2 separate regions of the Homo sapiens genome follow, and region 1 is linked to region 2. Evidence: promoter capture Hi-C in 16 types of primary human blood cells and fetal thymus (Javierre and others, 2016). All regions are on one chromosome and are shown on one strand. The core of a region is centred on a gene start or on the middle of the fragment in contact, and the rest is flanking DNA. Distances in the headings are between cores, read along the strand shown.

Region 1 (4,018 bases), core at 141-2,640, 510 kb after region 2:
TTGGAAACAGTATTTCTCCCTTGTGGGGGGAAAAAGAAAAAGTCTTTGTCCTGGAGATTATAATCACATCTTGGAGATGTTTTCAGGGGTTGATCATTCTCTGCTATGTAGCCACATAGTGCTTTTTATATACTCTCCAAGCTCCCTTCTCTTGCCCCTTTTTTTCTGTGTTTGGGGCCTTTCATAGTCTGGCAAAAAGTTGGAGGTTATTGCCATTCTTCAGAATTTAGCAGGACCCTGTAGGAACAAGAACAATATCTAGACTCCCATTATTAATTAGGACTTGAAACCAAAAATGCATGACCCTTCTAAAAAGTGAGTGAGGATGAGGATGAAGCAAAGGGGAGGCAGGTGCTCATAGAGTATGTAGTATTCTAAGCGTTACTAGGCTGGGACTTCCCCCCAAAGGTGATGACTTCCTTTAGTATGTGAATCTTGAAATGAAAGAGGCACTTACCCAGGTTCAGATAAATGAGGTGTCCAGCTTAGGGCAGGTGAACTCTGTGGTAAGAGTTATGATGACATCAGGGGACAGGTTTGCGCAAGGCACACTGGACGGAACATAGAGTAAGATGATCCAGTGGTGTCTAGAATGTGGATAATACCCAATGTATTTTTGTTTGATGATTGGAAAGGAGAAAGAGGCAAAGCCCTTTCTCCCTTCCCAGGCTTGGGAAGGGCTGATCTGATGCATGCTGTGAATATGAGTCGACTTACTGGCGAGCCAAGTCCTTTCCTGGAGAGCAGTTTTGACCAGAAGTGGTAGACAAAACACCCTCGTCCCTGGTTGGAAAACATTACCCCAGGGTGATGAATTGGTGCTCTCAGGCTAGGTCTGGGTGTGGAATGAAGATAGATAAGCAACAACTGTGAATTAGGTTGAGTGCGAAGAGGAACACTCAGCTTGGGAAAGGAAACAACCCACGTTTGCAATGCGTCATCCTGCGCCAGATTGAGCACCTCAAGGTTTGTCTGCACACAGTTGGTTTGTACTCCAAGATTTCTTCACATTGTAGTAAAGAAAGATTAACCTTGCCCTTGAATGAACTTGGTCTGAGCTGCAGAAACAAGCATTTGGGCATGCCCAAGGTTGCAAAATGGAAACAAGCCAGTGCACCCTGAAAATCTGCCCTTTTTTTGGCTCACAGACACTGGCAGTAGAAAGTTAGGCCAGAACTGGCTGGGGTTATATTGGTTCATGTCCAGTGAGGTCAGTAGCCCAGTGGCTAGGTCTGTTCCAGAATGATCAATGGTGTTCACTCTGACCAGTTTCTCTAATTCAGGTGAAGTATCTTTTCCATACCCCGCTGAGAACAGGGACTCCAGTGTCACCTTAGAGGTTCTGATCCTGACTGCTCATGTGCTGCGAACCTGACCCACCAACGCGCAGAGAAGCGGAGTGCAGCTAGGAGTCTCTTCCCTCAGCCCTGCGGACCAGCTGACTCCCAGGCCCTGGCAGCCCCTTTGAAAGCTCTTACTCTCCTCTGTGTGACACACCACAAGTGGCCTAGCAGCCGTAGCTGGCCAGGATTAGGCCTAAGTCATGGCTGTCCCTGCTGCCTGTGTGTGACCAGATCATTGATGACAACAGGTCTGAAAAGTGTCAGGATGTTACCCATTTCTACTGCAGCCATATTTTAGTAGGGAACTTTGAACAAGGCTGAATTTAAATTATTAACAACTAAGTTTCCGAAGTCAAGTCAGCGTATCTCAGTAATCCTGTGTAGTCTAAATTAGATTTTTTAAAGGCGGGAACGTGCCATAGATTATAATCTCTCAAAATCTCTGGGAGCCACACAGCATATAAAATATGAAAGTTGTCATTTACCATCTCTAAAACTTCACTGACAGGAATGATTTGGATATATTTAACTTCTGATAAACAATGATAAACATTCACTTTATCACTCCTGTCAGTTCGTATGAATCTTTCAGTCCTCTAAAGCATTAGCTCTTTTCTTTTTTAACTCCATTTCTGTCAACAAGAACAGGAAAATGTTTTGTTTATAAATGCTATTTGCAACCTGGGACCCATCTTGTTTTATGAACAGATTCTCCAAATCTTCTATGCCTTTGAACACGGACTTACTCTACTCTAATGCTTAAGCTCCAGAGCCGTCGGAGAGCCTGGCGCAGTAGACAGACCAGCACGCTGGCATCGGATCACTGGAGCCAGTGGCCTTCTCCAGTTCACTTGTTAACTTCTCAGCTGCAGATCACTTTTTGTACTGCAGTGACTTTTGTGAACATTAATTTTTTTCTTTCCAGATATGCATTTTATTTTATTTTATATTAGAGACAGAGTCTCGTTCTGTCACCCAGGCTGGAGTGCAGTGGCGTGATCTCGACTCACTGCAACCTCTGCCTCCCGGGTTCAAGCAATTCTCCTGCCTCAGCCTCCCAAGTAGCTGGGATTACAGGCGTCTACCACCACGCCTGGGTAATGTCTTTGTATTTTTAGTAGAGACGGTGTTTCACCATGTTGGCCAGGCTGGTTTCGAACTCCTGACCTCAAGTGATCCACCTCCCTCAGCCTCCCAAAGTGTTGGGATTACAGGCGTGAGCCATCACACCCCGCCCAGATATGCCTTTTGTATTAAACTTCATGTTATACATGAATATGTTCTTTTATTCAAAACTTCTCTCATGTCTGAAATATTTTAACCTACTTTCCCTTGTTTTTGTTTTATTCTCAATGACTTCTAAAAATTCATCAATAAGCCTTAATTCTTTTAACTGTCAAATATTTGTATTCTTACCTCTACAGACTCTACAGACAATGCTTCCAAAACTGAATTCCAGGGTTTTAACAACTCTGGATCTTTCTAGGTGTCCCTAAGTTTATGCACATAGTAGTACATCCTGGAAGTTGTTATGATAGAAAATTCGGCATGCTTTGTCTATATGGGTTGTAGTTTATATAGCAGTTGTTCCTGATTTTAACAATTGGTCCTGACTCCAAGATTTATGTTTTGTTTGTTTGTTTTTGAGATGGAGTCTTGTTCTGTCGCCCAGGCTGGAGTGCACTGGCGCCATTTTTACTTCTTTCACAAGTAGAATTTTTTTAAATGTTAGCAATATAGGAAGATGTCTTGAAGGTCACACAGTTCCCCTTCTCCTAATTCTTTAGTGAGCGTGAGTGCTCTGGCTCTCTTAAAAGTCATTTCTCCCCTTCGAACCCTCCCCAGTCTTTTTCTCGTTTGAGCCACAAACAGTCTGGTTTCTACTGTATTAAAGCAAATTAACCTAGTAAGAAACACTGACTTTTTTTTTACTGGCTACAGTTCTAAGCACAAGAAAAGGGGAAAGGAGACCAAATAAAGAAATAGGAAAAATGAGGCATTAAAGGGGAGCCAACACGGGGTTTGGAAGGGATGAGAGCTTCCGCCATGGCAGGATGGGCCTTTCTTGCACTGCTTACTCTGAGTTCAGAAATAGAGGAGGAAAGAAGGTAGATCATGCCACAGCCTGAAATGGATACGACACATACCAGGGCTCCCATAGAGTGTGATCGGATGCTGGGTGTAATTATTCAAGTGTATGCATTTGAATAAATCATCTTCCTCAACCTCAACACTCAAGGTTGAAGTAAGCATAGTGTGTGACATGCCAGCCACATAGTGAGTTCACTCAAGGAGCAACTGAGAAATGTCAGGCTTTACTTGCTGCACACCCCCAACTCGGCCACCAAGTTGCATCTGAATGCACCTTGAACCCTTGATAAAATGAACTTTCAATCTTAAAGACTGTTAGAACTCTCACTCCCTTCCATTGGGAAAGGTGCTTCCTGGCTCTAGGAGGTGGGTGGGGAAGGGGTTCCTTTGAGGAGGATGAATGTGGTGTGATTTTTTTGGGGGGCGGGGCGGGGCAGGAGGACGGAATCTCACTCTGTCGCCCACACTGGAGTGCAGTGGCGCGATCTCGGCTCACTGCGAGCTCCGTCTCCCAGGTTCACGCCATTCTCCCTCCTCAGCCCCCTGAGTAGCTGGGACTACCAGCACCCGCCACCAAGCCTGGC
Region 2 (4,374 bases), core at 1,106-3,605:
ACCACCTGGGTGACGGGACCAGTTGTACCCCCAACCTCAGCTGCATGCTGTATGTCCATGTAACAAACCTGCACATGTACCCCCTGTATCTAAAATAAAATTTCAAATTATTAAAAAAAAAAAATAGGGTCGGGTGCAGTGGCTCACGCCTGTAATCCCAGCACTTTGGGAGGCCGAGGCGGGCGGATCACGAGGTCAGGAAATCGAGACCATCCTGGCTAACACGGTGAAACCCCGTCTCTACTAAAAATACAAAAAATCAACCGGGCGTGGCAGCAGGCGCCTGTTTTCCCAGCTACTCAGGAGGCTGAGGCAGGAGAATGGCGTGAACCCGGGAGGTGGAGCTTGCAGTGAGCCGAGATCGCGCCACTGCACTCCAGCCTGGGCGACAGAGCGAGACTCCGTCTCAAAAAATAATAATAATAATAATAATGACAGTCCTACTTTTCCTTTGTAACAAAAATAAAAGTTACCTATAAGAGTTAAAGGTAAATAAAATTTGTAATTTTAATTAAGAAACACTAAGTAAACATACAACTTCCAAGAAGCCGGGTTCCCCACTACCTGGTTATAAGTAAGTCTACAAACCTAAATGAGCATTGTACAGCGCTTACTATAGTTCATAATTATTCTGTCATCAGGGACAAACATTGTAAAGACACTTTTTCCTCAAAGCCTTAGCATTCAATTTTTTTTTTTTTTTTTTTTTTTTTTTGAGACAGATTCTTGCCCTGTCGCCCAGGCTGGCGTGCAATGGCTCCATCTCGGCTCACTGCAACCTCCGCCTCCCGGGTTCAAGCGATTCTCCTGCCTCAGCCTCCCGAGTGGCTGGGATTACAGGCGTGTGCCACCACGCCTGGCTAATTTTTGTATTTTTAGTAGAGGCGGGGTTTCACCATGTTGGCCAGGCTGGTCTCAAACTCCTGACCTCAGGTGATCTGCCCGCCTCAGCCTCCCAAAGTGCTGGGATTACAGGCGTGAGTCACCGCGCCCAGGCAGCACTCCAACTTTTTATATGGATTGTTAACTGTACTGGTTCTTGAGAAGCCAGACTGAGCGCTTATACAATTAGTCCAAAGATCCCCAAACAACATTTAAAGGCTGTCTACAAATTCAAGCTAAAAGACTGTGTACAAATTCATTTGTGTGTCACAAAACATTTAATACTGAAAGAGATTCTTATTCAAATAGGCAGTGTGTAAATGTGGGGTCTGTTAACAGTTCAAATTGCAGATTCCTTTCCTTCTTTAAGTTTTCATTGCACCACCACGAACTAAACCATTTAACATACCTCAGAGGTCTCTGGGTACCTAGTCTCTCAGAGGCCTTTGGAGGCCCACGAAGGCTTATCTTAACTAAAATTGGCAGGGCTGGCTGATAAAGTTAACGGAACTCCCCATTTTGGAGGCAGACTTAGTAATGGTCAAACGAAGAAACTGTTGTGGTCTGTTCTTAAAAAGCTACTAGTATTTAGTGCTTCACAGAGGAAGTAAAGAAAGCAATAATCCGAGATGAGGAGGAGCAAATACAGGCGTGGCGGTAGTTCAGGACTGAGTCTACAAGGGCGGTTCTCAAGGGCGTCACAAAATCCTATGGAAGGCTTGGAGGACGGCACTCCTGGATCTGAGCCCTACGTCCCAAACACCTTCAATCGTATTGTGAGGAAGAAGACCTTTTACACACTCCCTGCTGCTGGCCCCCGGCCCCCTCGCCCCACCTCCGAGTGGTCACATCACACGGCGGGAGCCGCGGTCAGCAGCTGTGATCACACCCCCAGGACCGTGCTCTGCGGGCTGGGCTCGAAGCCTTGGGACGCGGCACTTCCTGGTTGGTACGGGATGCCGGTCCCATCGCCCCCACCAGCCCAGTCATGCCACCGCGCACCCGAACCAAGGGCGCCCGGATGACCTGGGGACACCACACACACTGCACCCGAAGCCCTGTGGCGGCGAGGCGGTGCATCCTGCAGAGGACGCCTGGGCTTCAGCCTGAGCCTGCGCGGCTCTGCGCTCCAGGCAGCCGCCCGCGCGGCAAAAGTGCGTGCCAGAGTTGTCAGCTTTCACCCTGCAGGAATTCCACCCGAAGGCGTGCGAGGGAGGCCCTTGGGGATCGCTAGGGAGTCCGCCGCCGACTCACTCGCTGAAATCCCGTCCAAGTTGGGCGGGGAGCGGCCAGCTGCCCAGGTTGGGCGGAGGAGGGACGGAGGGCGAGGGCAGTGGAAACCCGGCTCCCACGGGCGCCCGGTGATCCGGGTCTCGGCGCGGCTCCTACCTGCAGGGCGAAGGGGCCGCTAGCACCTGCGCGTTGGCGGCGGACTCTCAGGGCTCGGGTGCCTCTGGCACAGCTGGAGCTCAGCGGGAGGGAGGGAGAGAGGGCGGGCCGGAGGGGGCTCTGCGCTGCGCGGCCGGCAGGAACTCTCCGCCCGGATTCGCCCCGGATTCGCAGGGGTGGAGCGAGGCGGTGCCAGGTCCCGGGGCGTCGCGGTGCCGGCTGGAGGCCCCAGCGGGGCAGGTCTCGCGACTGGGCCTCTGATCGCCCGCGTTCCTTGTTCTCTTTTCCCAAAGTTTCATAACTCGACCGCATCACCCTAGGGAATGCTCGCTATTAGGACCATTATCAGGTCCTCTCGAGCCGCCAAGGACCAGCCACCTTTCCCGGAGCTTTGCCTATGATATCTATTCTTCGACTACTGCGGATAGTAGCCACAACTGGTCCAACTTATAAGTAAGGAATCAGCAAATCAAACGGCTAAATAACTTGCCTGAGGTGACATAATTAAGAGACTGGAGCTTTGCTGGAGTCTTTATAAGCCTTCTTGCACCTCCTTAGGGAAGTGTTATCGCCAATTTACAGGTAAGGAAATGAAGGCTCAGAACCAGCCCGAGGTCACACAGCTTAGATGGAGGGGGACGGGAATTTGTGTCCCGATGTCTCTAAAACTGGTTATAATTCAGAAATCTTAGCATAAAATAATAAATTGGGAGCAAAACAGGGAAAAGACCCATTCCACCTATGGAACCGTTCAAACACGGCAATTTTGCTGTTTTCAGTCCACTTAGAATAAAGTCTTAAGAAAAAGAGAACCAGTTGTCATGTGGCTTGAATAGCAGCCCTTTGGGAATGTAATTTTGAATATAGGCCAGTTCCAACCTCATTACACGATATTGCATCCCGCCAAAGCCAGGGGAAGCAATGGCCTCCCCATGCACCAAACTGCTAATAACGTCAGCCACTTTAAAGCATTTAGTGGATATTACACAACTGCGACTGACCAAGTTACATAATGTCTTACTGCACACATGGCATTGCATGAAATGAAAAATATAATATACCAGTCCAAATTAGGGGAGGGGGGCCAAATTATAGTCTGGAACTCAGTTTTCCTGTAACCTACAGTTGCTCAGCCCTCCTTAGACCACATTTTTGTCTCTTGAGCACATCTTTTCCTAATGATAGAAGAGTCACACAGCCCTCACTCTTTCCTTGTTGACATAAATGATTGATGTCTTTTGAATCCTATGATACTGACAGATTTTTACAATTAAACACATGACTCTCTGAGCAGAGTATTGCCTAAGAGGAGTTTAGTAAGTTTCAGACAAGCATGTTACTGGAAGGCAGAATACCCTCTCTCCTCCCCTCTTTCTCAAGCTTTATTAGTCACAGATGGTCTGATAAGTCTTGTGCACACACGTAACTGCATTCTTACAAGCTTGTCTTTAGAAATTATAATGCTTTTGGTTGAGAAGCAGCAGTCTATAAAATTGCATCCCAAATTCTTAAGTGTCACTATGAAAACATTTGGCACTTGCCTCCAACAATAGGTCTTTCTACTAAATCTAATTAGAAATAAAATTATCAAGGCCAAGCGCAGTGGCTCACACCTGTAATCCCAACACTTTGGGAGGCCGAAGCGCGTTGATTACCTGAGGTCAGGAGCTCAAGACCAGTCTGGGCCACATGGCGAAACCCCGGCTCTACTAAAAATACAAAAATTAGCCGGAGGTGGAGGCAGGTTCCTGTAATCGAAGCTATTCGGGAGGCTGAGGCAGGAGGATTATTTGAACCTGGGAGGAGGAGGTTGCTGTGAGTTGAGATTGCACCACTGCATTCCAGCCTGGTGACACAGCAAGACTCTGTCTCAAAAAAAAAAAAGAAAGAAAGAAAGAAAGAAAATTATCTAAGTGCCCTTACAATAACTGAATTTCTGCCTCCCTGGGATAGAGGAATAAAATAGGAAATGCCATATGTTGTTTAGAGATGAACTGAAGCTTATGGACTCCCAAACATGAATTTTAGAAGTAGTATGATTTTGTATGTAATTATTTTATTTTCCTGAGAGATTTTGTGATTTTTCTTTCCAACTCTTTCATA

The links. The method cuts DNA at HindIII sites, captures the fragments that hold promoters and counts their contacts. A CHiCAGO score of 5 or more calls a contact.
Region 1: a fragment that was not itself captured here is called in contact with the fragment with the promoter of PLD1 in region 2 in 1 of 17 cell types (neutrophils); the score reaches 7.6 in neutrophils.

What each region holds. Positions count from the first base shown.
Region 1 is chr3:172,323,547-172,327,564 of GRCh38, forward strand. The region is part of intron 11 of FNDC3B (fibronectin type III domain containing 3B); the gene reads left to right. Among named protein-coding and RNA genes, the nearest start is that of GHSR, 120 kb to the right of the region's middle. The HindIII fragment of the contact is 8,157 bases long and covers 1-4,018 here.
Region 2 is chr3:171,808,128-171,812,501 of GRCh38, forward strand. PLD1 (phospholipase D1) reads right to left here and starts at 2,356. Exons shown (of 27, transcript NM_002662.5): 1 at 2,272-2,356. The HindIII fragment of the contact is 4,859 bases long and covers 1-3,649 here.